Regions from separate parts of the Homo sapiens genome. Here all the other regions are linked to region 1. The links are contacts of gene promoters, found by promoter capture Hi-C in blood cells and fetal thymus (Javierre and others, 2016). All regions are on one chromosome and are shown on one strand. Each heading gives the region's core, a stretch centred on a gene start or on the middle of the fragment in contact. The rest is flanking DNA. Distances are from core to core; before and after follow the strand shown. Region 1 holds the start of KCNG3 (potassium voltage-gated channel modifier subfamily G member 3). Region 2 overlaps MTA3 (metastasis associated 1 family member 3). Region 3 has its middle 2.3 kb from the start of MTA3.

Region 1 (3,977 bases), core at 1,030-3,529:
AGACAATTTTATTTACTTCTTAGATTTATATAAAAATCCTTACTCCCTACAGGAAGAATATTATGTAGAAGTAATCCACTGCAATAGCAAGGCCGCCGTTCCGAACATGTACATGCCTATCAGTAAAACATGACAGGGCACAACCTTAAATTTAAAAAATGAATGGAAGGAGGATCTTAAGACAGTGTCAAACAGATAAACTATAATATGCAGTTTGGGTTTTGTGCCCCAAAAGGCTGTCTTCTTTGAAAGTCCATCCTTAGTCTGCTTATTCCTCCCACTGAATATGCTCACTTGTACTAAAAACAGGAAAGTGCTATCACCACTTCAAGGTAAGACAGTCTAAGAAAAGACTGCAATATTTTCCCATTCATCCTAGTAAAGTAGAAAAAAAAATTTACCCAAATACTGTTTTCTGGATTTAGGACAGTTTAGATTTTTCTTTGTTCTCAAGGTAATGGTTTTTTCCCTTCCCATATCATAGACCCTCTGAAAGTCGCAGTGTGAATCTTTGCTACCAAACGGTGGACAAGAGGTTTGCTAACTCCATACTTTGTAGGAAAAGGGGGAAGAAAAGGGCACAGACATCCATTATTTAGAGTCTATCGATAAATTAACCTGCTTTATAATATAACGATTCCATTACAGCACATAGTATGCCGGGGGCAGAGTGTATAGAATGTGTGGAGAGTGCACATTTCACCATAACAAGAATCCATCTTTCCAAACACTACCAAAAATTGGCAAATAATTCAAACTGCGCTTAGTTCAAGGCTTAATTGTTGAACCCTAACAATAAAAGTTCAGAAAAATGTAATTAGCAGGTTGCTCTCTGCGCAAAAGTAAACTACAAAGAGGGGACATTTGTCTATCTCTACACGCCCCTCCCCATGCCTGAGGATTTCGCCCTCAAGAGGTGCGTCTAGTGTAAGGGCCAGACCCCGCTGGTGCCCCGGACAACGGGGTAGGAGTGGGGACCGACCGGTCCCGTAGTTGGCCGCGCCTGGGCCTCGCTGGGCGCGCACCCCGCTGGCTCGGTCGCCCGGAGGCGGACAGGACGGAGACGGGACGTATGGACGGGACGGACAGACGCGACAGGACGGACGGGACGGGTAGAGAAGCAGTGCGTCCTACCCGGAGGGCTCCCTCCCAGGGCCGGCGGAGTACCTGCTCCGGTCATCCAGGCTGCGGTTGTCGGCGGCTGCGTTGCGCCAGTCGGGCAACGTGCTGGCGCACAGCACCACCATGGACACGATCACGAACACCACCGACACGCTAGCCAGGATCTGCGCGGCCAGCGACGACGTGGGCTCCTCGAAGGTCCGCCGCATGCGCTCCAGCCAGCGCCTGGAGGGAGCCGCCTCGGCCCCGCCGGGGCGCGCCTCGTCGCGGCCCAGCACGCCCGGCTCGTCGGCCGAGTAGAAGGTGTAGGTGTCGGACATGCGGTCGTCGAGGCGGCGCTGGCAGCAGTACTCGAGGTGCGCGCCCTCCAGGCCCCAGTAGATCATCTCGTTGTAGAAGGAGAGCTCGCACATCCGCGGCGCGAAGCGCAGCTTGCCGTGGCCGCGCACGTAGAGCAGGATGAAGCCGAAGGCCTCCGAGTGCCGGTCGAAGAAGTACTCGTTGCGCTCGCGGTCGTAGTCGTCGCACACCTCGAGCACGTCGCGCTCGGAGCGGCAGCCGTGCAGCCGGCTCACGCGGCGCAGCGGGAAGTCCTTCAGCAGCTCCCGGGACAGCGAATACCGGGCGCCGCCCACGTTCAGCACCACCGAGGCCGCCCCGCTGCGCCCGAAGGTCATGGCTGGCCGCCCGGGGGACTTTCGGCCCGAGGGCCCCGCTGCAGCCCCCCACCCCAAGCCGCCACGCGGGGCCTGCCTGCCCGTGGCTGACGGGGGAGCGCGCCGTCGGGGCCCGCGCTCCCTCGGGGCTCCGCTCCTGCCCTCCGCTGGCCCGGGGGTCCCTGGGCTCGAGTATCTCCGGCGCTGCTAGTAGCGCGCCCTCCGCCCGGCGGTACCTGCGGGTGGCCGGGGAGTCCTCGCCGGCGCCAGCGCTGAGCCCCACCGGCTGGGAACGCGGCTGTGTCCGCGCCGCCGACCCTCGCGCCCGAGGGCTGCGCACACCGAGGCCGCGGTGCCCTCTCCCAAGCCGCGGGGCCGACCCCCTGAGGGCTGCGGGCGCCGAATGGAGCCGCCGGGGCGGAATAGCTCCCCGTCTCCGGCGCTCCCTGCGGCCGCGAATCCGGCGGCCGCCCCGCCGCCGTCCAGAGGCGAGAGGCAAAGTGAGCGGGTTCGGAGGCGGCGAAGAGCCGGCTCGCGGCGGCGGGGGCGGGGCCTCTGTGCAGTCCTCCTCCTCGCCCGCCGGCTCCGCGCGCGCCGCTCACCTCCCTCCGCGCCGCCCTCCGCTTCCCGCCCGCGCCCGCACCTCCCCGGCTTGCTCGGGCTGGGATTCCCGGGCGCCCCGCCCTGGACCTCGGGCTCCCCGCCTCGTGACGCCGTCCTCCCCCTCCGCTCCGGCCCGTAGTGGCGGGGAGGGGTCCGCAGGGCGGGGGAGCGGGGAGCCCAGCGCCGGGATGCCTGCTCCCGCGTCCTGCCCTGGGCCATCGGGATGAATTGGGCAGTCCCCAGGGCCCCTTTTAACAGCCCTGGTTCAAAGCCCAGTGTGGACTCGGGTGCGGGGACAGACGGCGTTTGGAGAGCTTTTTCCAGAAACTGTCCGGAGCCCAGCTCGGGTTCTGACATCGCCCCTAAGGATTTCTCAGGGAAGGCATCCCAGCCACGGCTTTTCCTGCCGACTTTGCTCTTCCTACCGCCGCGCGGGGCGACCCACGTACCGCGTGCTCAGAGGGCGGCTACACGCCCCATCCCCCAGCCTCGGTGCCGCCTGCCAGCCCGCGGAGGGAAGCGGTCCCCGACCCGGCCCCGGCCCCCACGTTCTGGGGCGCGAGTCCTGAGAAGGCGCCTAACGTGTAGCGCGCCTGGACCCTCTCGAGATGCTGCCCTTAGAGTGGGATGAAAGTCTGGGGAGGAACGCCTTGTCACCGGCAAAAACAGCCTTTCTCTTGGTCTTCGTCTGCATCCTCCTTTTCAAAATATCTTGATTTCCCCCGCGCACCCCTGACCCGGCTGCAGCACCGGCCCTCCGAGCGGGAAGAGCCCCGTGAAGGCTCCGCAGAGCGATCTACCCCGCGCTCTTGTCCGTGCCCAGAAAGCGGGTTCCACTTGGCAGGGATTATTTTAAACTGCTACCAGCAATTCATTCACCTGACACCCGACACCGGCAGCCCAGCCCGCCGGAGGCGAGACAGGTGAGTTGTAAGGCGAACCGTGTTAGATGCAAAACAAATACTAGAAGAAAAAAATAAGGGTGGGGTAGGGTGAGATGCGGTCATCTGACCACAGGGTAACCTGGCTGGTTAAAGGGAAGAGTTTTTCATTGCCCTCTACTTTTCGTAATTTTGTAGGATTGTCCGGTGCCCGCTAGAGGTCGCCAAACGGAGTCCTTTTGCGCTGGTTCTTAAGTGGATTCCTAGTGAAAAGGCAGACAACTGAAAATGTGAGTGCTGTCTTTTAAGTAAAATCACTCTCGGTGGCTTCTTAAAGAATGAAAATCTCTGTGAGTTGTTTATCCCCAGACTTGGATAATTTATCTTAAGAGCACTAAATGTGATTAAAAGCTCAAAAACAGGAGTTATTTGCTACTTTAGTATCTACTAAATAGTTTGCTATTCAGTATCTATTTTGCTATTTAGTGTCTACTGGGTAGATACTGCTACTTTGCTGTTTAGTATCTACTAAGTAGATATTAAACAAGAAAAATATCTGTAAGAAAGTGAGTTTCAAGACAGAATTGGAGGTGCTGATGGCCATGAGTTGGCACAGAGAAAGGGCAAAACATTCCTAGTAGCAAAATCTCGAATGTGGAGGTTTAAAGTCTGTGAAGAAGTATAATGCACTTGCCCACTGAAACAATGGGGATCT
Region 2 (3,977 bases), core at 1,079-3,578, 96 kb after region 1:
GTAGCAGAATGTTTTCTGTTTTTTTCTCTCGATTTTCCCTTCTTTTATTTATTCATTTATTTGTTTGTTTTTTTGAGACAGTCTGACTCTTGTCACCCAGGCTGGAGTGTAGTGGCACAGTCTCAGCTCACTGAAACCGCTGCCTTGAGGTAGGGATTCAAGTGATTCTCCTGCTTCAGCCACCCGAGTAGCTGGGATCACAGGCGTGCCCCACCACACCCAGCTAATTTTTGCATTTTTTGTAGAGATGGGTTTTTGCTGTGTTGGCCAGATTGGTCTTGAACTCCTGGCCTCAAGTGATCTGCCCACCTTGGCCTCCTAAGGTGCTGGGGTTCCAGGTGTCCCTGGTGTACTAACCTAATGTTTTTTATGCTTGCAAATTATATTAATTATCTTATGAATCACTGCAACAGAAATGCCTATGTAAATTAAAATGTAAAACTATTTACATTTTCTGAGTTCATAAGGCTCAGAGTCTTAACATTTTTCCTTGGATTTTTATAATAATAGTATACATTGTAAAATTTTTGATAATTAGTAAAACTAAAAGTGTGACATTTTCATAGGAAATCTTAAGCTTAGTGGGGCTTCCTCTCACTCCAATTAGCTTAATGAATCCTTGAAATAATATACCTCATTGCTAGAATGAGACAGGTTTAGCTTTCATTCTGTTCCTCATGTTTGATTTATATACATGTAGATTCTAACAAAATTTTTACATGTAAGTAAGTAGATCAGAATGGTGGAGTTTTACTATGTATTCATTTACCAAATGTATTTTGAGCTCCTGCTGTGTACTGGACATTCTACTAAGTACTGGTGATGAGTGGTGAACAAAGCTACCGAAATCTCTGCCCTTAGAGCTTATAAAGGTGTCAGTTCTTTGTTCTTCTCAACTGTGTTTGAAAAAGCATATAGCAGTCATTGACAATAAAGGATTTTTAATGATTTAGCAGCTGACAATTCAATTAGGTCTTCTTTCAGTTTTGCTAGAAGCAGATAATTTGAAACCAGCAGACATGGAAGAGATTTAGGTTTTTTAACAAGTCATTAGGGCCCTTTGCATTCTCATTTTCTGAGAAGCAAAGTAAAAAGGTTTTACTGAGACCTAACAAAAGATTATTAATTATACTTCTTACTATTCACCTATCCCTATAGGTGTATCAATTAGTGTTTTACCCGAGAAAGAGAACCAGATGGAGATTATGTATGTGTATAAATATACAGACACATATGTATGCATGTATACACATGTATGTATTATACATATATATATATGCTATATAAAATTTTCAACAGGTTTATATACATATAAAGAGATTTTTTTTGCAAGGAACTGGTTTACATAATTGCTGGGGCTGGCTAGGCAAGTCTGAAATCCACAGGGAGGCTGTCTGTTAGGTGGACATTTCTTCTTCAGGGAAGCCTTAGTTTTGCACTTAGGGCCTTTTACTGATTGGATGAGGCCCACCCTGATTGTGGAGGCCAATCTTCTTAACTTCGAGTCAGCTGATGTTACTCATATCTACAAAATATTTTCATAACAATATCTAAATTAGATTTTGATTGAATGACTAGGTACTATAGTTTAGATAGTTTGACACATAAAACCATCATCGGCACCTTATTTCAACCAGTATACTCAAAGGTTTGGGAAAGTTGAAGTAATGAAGTAATGTTCATTAAAATATACGTTTGTGTTTTAAATTTATGTCCGGTAAATGTTTAACTCTTAGATCATGTACATACTTAAATATGTATTTAAATACATGATGCAAATTTTAATATAATTATAAACTATTTAAATATATTTTCATCTAATTCTTGGAACTGTGGATTTAATTTGTTCAGTTGTGGAAAATTATCACCAGTAACCTTAATGGCAAAGCCAGTCTTCCCTGACAAACCAGGCAGCTAAATAAATAACACTGATTTTCTGCCAGAAAGTCTGACTCCTTTTTTCCAATTTTAATAAATGAGTACTGTACATCTGTAAGGTAACCACCTCTTTTTGGATTTTTGTTTTTTTGAGAGAGAGTTTTGCTCTTTCACCCAGGCTGGCGTGCAGTGGTGCCATCTCGGCTTACTGCAACCTCTGCCTTCCAGGTTCAAGCGATTCTCCTGCCTCAGCTTCTGGAGTAGTTGGGATTACAGATATGTGCCACCATGCCCGGCTAATTTTTGTATTTTCAGTAGAGACAAGTTTCACCATGTTGCCCAGGCTGAAGTATGTATAGGACACAAAACCCTACTGTGAAACTTTTTGATATCTGGGTTAGAGGCTTCTCAGAGACCTGTATTGTATTTCTCTTTTGTCACCAATGGTCCCTTTGTTTGGTATCCTGGAGGTTTTTACTCCCCATGTTTCACCCAAGTTCTGCAGTAAGATTTAGGGTGGTTGAGAGGAGATGCCTGTATATAAGACAAGGGCAGTTGTGAGAAGTGGAGATGAGGAGAGATCAGTCTGATGCCTTGAGCTTGTGCTAGTTCTCAGGCAGATCAGTAGGAGCATGTGGGTGTTGATCTTAAACCTATGTTTCTGTGTACCCCTTAGAATGTCTTCTTATACACCCAAGAGACAGGTTCTTCTTTTGGAGACTTTGGGTACACTATAGCCCTTTTCCTGCGTGCTGTGGTTTGGATGTTGTGCCCTCCAAACTCATGTTGAGATTTGATCCCTGGTGTTGGAGGTGGGGCATAATGGGAGATGGTTGGGTCATGGGAGTAGATTCCTCTTGAATGGATTAAATTAATGCCCTCCCTGGAGTAGACGTGACTTCTCACTTTGTTAGTTCCCTAGAGAGCTGGTTTTTAAAAAGAACCAGCACACCTCCAACCTTGCTTCCTTTCTTGCCATGTGATCGCTGCATACTGGTTCCCCTTCACCTTCTGCCATGACTGAAAGCAGCCTGATTCCTTCATCAGATGCAGATGCCCAGTCATAAACTTTACAGCCATTAGAATTGTGAGCCAAATAAACCTTTTTGCTTTGTAGATTACCCAGCCTCAAGTATTCTTTTATAGCAACCCAAAATGGACTGAGAAACTGGGCTTGCTTTTTTTCATGTTTGCTTTTTTTTTTTTTTTTTTTGTGAGGTGGAGTCTCGCTCGCTCTGTCACCCAGGCTGGAGTGCAATGGTGCGATCTCGGCTCACTGCAACCTCCGCCTCCTGAGTTGAAGCACTTCTCCCACCTCAGCCTCCTGAGTAGCTGGGACTACAGGTGTGCACCACCATGCCTGGCTAATTTTTGTATTCTTAGTAGAGGCAGGGTTTCACCACATTGGCCCGACTGCTCTCGAATTCCTGACCTCAAGTGATCTGCCCGCCTGTTTGCTTTTTTTAAAACTGTGTTCCAGTTTTCATGACTGTGTGTTATTCCACACTTTGAGGTACTGTAATTTGACCACTGTGTACTGGTAGAGGATTAGGGTATTTTTCATCGTTTGCTACTGAGCAGTCTGCAGAACATAGCCATGATTGCTTTGTGACAAGGATATGTTCTGAGAGATGCGTCATTAGGTGATTTTGTCTTTGTGTGGACATCATAGAGTGTACTTACACAAACCTAGATGGTATAGCCTATTACACACCTAGGCTATGTGGTATAGCCTATTTGTACTTAGGGTACAAATCTGTACACATGTTATTGTATTGAATACTGTATGCAGGTGTTACCCAATTTTGGGTATTTGTTTATCTAAACATATTTAAACATAGAACAAGTACAGTAAAAATGCAGTAGAAAGGATAAAAAGTGATACACCTGTGTAGGGCACTTACCATGAATGGAGATTCCAGGCCTTGAAGTGAGTCAGTGAGTGAGTGGTGGTAGAATGTGAAGGCCTAGTACATACTGTACACCACTGTAGACTTACTAAACACTGTACACTTAGGCAACACTAAATTTATGGAAACGTTTTCCTTCAATAATGAATTAACCCAATTTATTATAACTTTTTAACTTCATAAACCTTT
Region 3 (3,977 bases), core at 373-2,872, 72 kb after region 1:
CTGTGAGGGCATGAGGGAACTATGGGATCCGAAAACACATACTGCCCGAAACCAAGACCTTTAGGGATTTCATGTTTTTTGCACAGGAGATCTATGGAAGAACCATCTCTATGACTAGAGAAGCTACAGAACTCCCAATTCTGTTTCCTTTCTCCTTGGGGCTCTTCTGCTTTGATTCTTGCCATCATATGCCTACACTTCTCTTGGGTTATGTTCCTCTGCCTTTAAAACCCAGGCCCTCCTTAGAATATGAGACAGACTGGCCTTTTCTGAAAGAATTTTACTAAATAAGAGAAGAAGTTAATGAAAGGAAAAAGAAGAGAGAAATAAATCATGGAAAACACGAACCAACAAGATAAAGTCCCTTTTCCAAAGCCTGGCCTCTGGTTTCAGATTAATTACATTTTAGACCTCCAGGCTCCTGTCCTGGGTTCAGTATGACAGAACTCCCAGACTGTGGCCAGCACCAATCTCTTTTAATTTATTTTTTTTGAGATGAAGTCTCGTTCTGTTGCCCAGACTGGAACACAGTGGTGTGATCTTGGCTCACTGCAATCTCTGCCTCCTGGGTTCAAGCGATTCTTCTGCCTCAGCCTCCTGAGTAGCTGGGACTACAGGCGCTTGCCACCATGCCCGGCTAATTTTTTGTATTTTTAGTAGAGATGGGTTTTCACCATATTGACCAGGCTGGTCTCGAACTCCTGACCTCATGATCCGCCGGCCTCGGCCTCCCAAAGTGCTGGGATTACAGGTGTGAGCCACCGCGCTCAGCCAACCGGCACCAATCTCTTTTTATTTTTTCGCACATATAAAAACTCCATCCCTACGTTGAGACAAAAACCAACTCTCCATTTTACCTATTCACCTAAAGCTTTCTTTTTTTTCTTTTGTTTATTTATTTTGAGACAGAGTCTTGCTCTATTACCCAGGCTAGAGTGCAGGGGCATAAACATGGCTCACAGCCTCTACCTCCTGGGCTCAAGCGATTTGCCTGCCTCAGTCTCTTCCAGAGTAGCCAGGACCATAGGTGCGCACCAACTGGCTAACTTTTTTTTTTTTTTTTTGGTAGAGGTGGGGTCTTGCCATGTTGCCTAGGCTCAAATGATCCTCCTGCCTTGGCCTCCCAAAATGCTGGGATTACAGGCGTGAGCCACCATGCCTAGCCACCTATAGCTTTCTTGCTGCATCCACTTCTCTTCAACTAAATGGTAAAGAACTACCTTGTATGTGGTTCTTTAATTGCAACAACTGTGCAAGGAAATTTCATCCATGGAAGGGCTGGATTTGCCCTGGGATTTCTGGCATGGCCTGAGAGACACTTCTTCCTTAGTGATGAGAATAACTGGAATAGAGAGAAGGGACCTAACGCATATGAAGCGCCCAACAAGTGCCAAACACCTTCTATATTTAAATTTTACCAGGCTGGGCATGGTGGCTCATGCCTGTAATCCCAGCATTTTGGGAGGCTGGGCAGGCAGATCACTTGAGGTCAGGAGTTCCAGACCAGTGTGGCCAACATGGTGAAACCCTGTCTCTACTAAAAATACAAAAATTAGCCAGACGTGGTGATGGGCACCTGTAGTCCCAGCTGCTTGGGAGGCTGAGGCAGGAGAATTGCTTGAGCCTCGGAGGTGGAGCTTGCAGTGAGCCGAATCCGAATCGTGCCATTGCACTCCAGCCTGGGCAGCGAGAGCGAAACTCCGTCTCAAAAAAAATTTTTTTTTCTACCATAAGCCTTTGAGGTAGGTATCAACCAGTAGTCATATTTTGTAACCCCTCTTGAGGCTCAGAGGGGTTAAGTAACTTGCTCAAGGTCTTTATAGTTAAACTGCCAAACTAGGAGTGAAGTTAGGGCTGGTTGATGACAAGTTTGTGGTCTAAACCATGTAGCTAAGAAGGGAGAGGCGCCTTTGCTTTTTTAAAGGTGCAGGCTTTCCACCCGTCTTTGGTTGAAAGGTTTCTTTCAATCTACAAACATTTGCTGAACTCCTTTATGTGTGAACCTCTCTGGAATTAGGACATATAAAAGTTTCACAAAGTCCTTGTATTCAGCTCTTCTGATTCTTTGAGTCCACGATTTGTTGGTATTTATTCTTCAGATACTGAGCATCTACTGTGTCAGCTCAGAAATGTAGAGGACATTGGCCTAGGAGCTGGACATGGAAGAGACTAATATATAGAATCTAGAGCAAAAAACGGTTCTAAGGCCTGCCACCATCATTACCTCCTGCTAGTCCCCTTCAAGTCTTTGAGGCCTTTCATGGGGGGCTTCTGGATGAGGCTGTTCCTAAGGGGACATAGGGAGGAGTTTTCTCGGCATCTTTCACCATTTATTGTGGTTAGCACAGTCATCATAAACACCTGGCAAGAGCACTAAGCTTGGGAAATGAGACAGGCACACAATGAATTAACAAAAACAGGGAAAGATTTCGAAGGAGGAGAAATTGCTTATGAAAAATTAATGGGAAAACATCCTAAAGCTTGTGATCCACTTCTTTGCACTTTATGGTTTCTAGGTGGCTTTTGTACTTGGAGAAACACTGTGGTTCAGAACATTCTAGGCCAGAGGAAAGGGCTGATTCATAATCCCAAAATTGCTGCCAGTTTACTGTGTGATTCCAGGTGAATTATTCAACCCTATTTATGTGTCAGCTCAGAAATGGAGTGATGTCAGTTTTGTCAGAATGTTTTTGGTGGGATCTCTGGTAAATGTTGAATGACAGCTATGCAATGTGTGGAACAGAACACTTTTGCTTTCTTCTTTGGGTCAGAATTTGACACATGGCTCAGAATTTGACACACAGCAGAGAACCCTTGGGAATCTGTGGTTTTCTGGGGTTAAAAAGAAAGCAAGAGACACCTGTTATTTGCATGGTGCTCTGTGTTCCCTGGTTTACAAAGCATTTTCAGATATCATCGCAACTGATCCTTACCACACCTGTGAAGGGGGAACTCACGTCCCCATTTTATAGACGAGGAAACAGGTCATAGAGTCAATGTAATTCAATAGTGCTTTATTTTTTATTTTTATATTTTGCCTCAGCTATGCACAGTTTTTTCATCTCAATACTTTGTGATAAGTGACCATCACAAATGTCATCACCAAACCACCAAAACACAACCTTCTTTTCTGGGGGCACCTCTTAGCCCCGCACAGACCTTAAACCCAGAGTCGACAGCACACAGCTGTGTATCACCACACATTCCAAACAAGCCACCACACCAAGAAATCTTCTTCGTGTTTATTATGCAGCAATGTCTGGGAGTACTTTGGAATGGACTGGCTTCTCTAAAGAAAGTTATTTGTGTTCATTTGGGGGATCGCCAGCTAAGATTCAACGTTGTTTTTTTTTTTTTGTATCTGTGAGAGTAGGAAGGCCGTGAAAACAGAGGTTGTTTAGAGAATTGGCCTGGGACAATAACCATTTAGAAGCTTTAGGCACGTAACCAGTTAAGTGTCCATCGACATGAAACTGATTGAATACAATCTCCTCTGTTTGGGGGTGGTGGTGATTGTGAACTGTAGGGCCCTGTTCCCCCATGGACAAAGGAAGCCCCTCACTCCTAAAGGTCCCTTTTCCCAGCAGAACAGGCCCTGCATATACAGTGCCCGTCTAGAGCCAGGGCCTCCATCTGGGTGTTGGACAGTTGGTTCTGCTCAGCCCAGTTTTGGGGTAAACGATGACGCAGTTAGGGTGGCCTAGGAAGGGAGTTTTTCTACCTCTGTCCCCAGCTGGGTCTCTGGCGAGGCGGGAAGCACCCGGAATCTTCCTGGCCCTAGAGCCTGCAGGCTCCAGGCCGGCCCCTTGAATCTCACCGCGAGGAAGGCACCCTGCTGCCTGCACTTATTTGCATCCAAGAGTTTGCATTGAGACTGGCGCTTGCCTACTAGGGCAGCCACAGGGGGGTTCCCCAGGGACAGAGGTAGGGAAGGAGGACCTGTCTTGGGGTGGACAGGTGACGGGGTACCCTGGGTG

Evidence for each region. Contacts are between HindIII fragments. The CHiCAGO score rates a contact against its expected background, and 5 or more counts as called.
Region 2: a contact is called between a fragment that was not itself captured here and the fragment with the promoter of KCNG3 in region 1, in 1 of 17 cell types (fetal thymus). The highest score is 7.5, in fetal thymus.
Region 3: a contact is called between a fragment that was not itself captured here and the fragment with the promoter of KCNG3 in region 1, in 1 of 17 cell types (fetal thymus). The highest score is 14.0, in fetal thymus.

The regions. Positions count from the first base shown.
Region 1 is chr2:42,491,703-42,495,679 of GRCh38, forward strand. KCNG3 (potassium voltage-gated channel modifier subfamily G member 3) reads right to left here and starts at 2,280. Exons shown (of 2, transcript NM_133329.6): 1 at 1,135-2,280. The coding sequence starts at 1,799. It also overlaps a transcript of MTA3 not described here. RefSeq lists enhancers at 467-1,224, 1,225-1,982, 3,307-3,601 and silencers at 2,063-2,152, 2,333-2,382, 2,473-2,552. The HindIII fragment of the contact is 17,203 bases long and covers 1-3,977 here.
Region 2 is chr2:42,587,542-42,591,518 of GRCh38, forward strand. The region is part of intron 3 of MTA3 (metastasis associated 1 family member 3); the gene reads left to right. All of the region lies in intron 2 of LOC105374555 (a long non-coding RNA gene), which reads right to left. Among named protein-coding and RNA genes, the nearest start is that of MTA3, 21 kb to the left of the region's middle. The HindIII fragment of the contact is 3,506 bases long and covers 576-3,977 here.
Region 3 is chr2:42,564,303-42,568,279 of GRCh38, forward strand. It overlaps a transcript of MTA3 not described here. Among named protein-coding and RNA genes, the nearest start is that of MTA3, 2.3 kb to the right of the region's middle. RefSeq lists an enhancer at 3,578-3,717 and a silencer at 3,958-3,977. The HindIII fragment of the contact is 1,507 bases long and covers 870-2,376 here.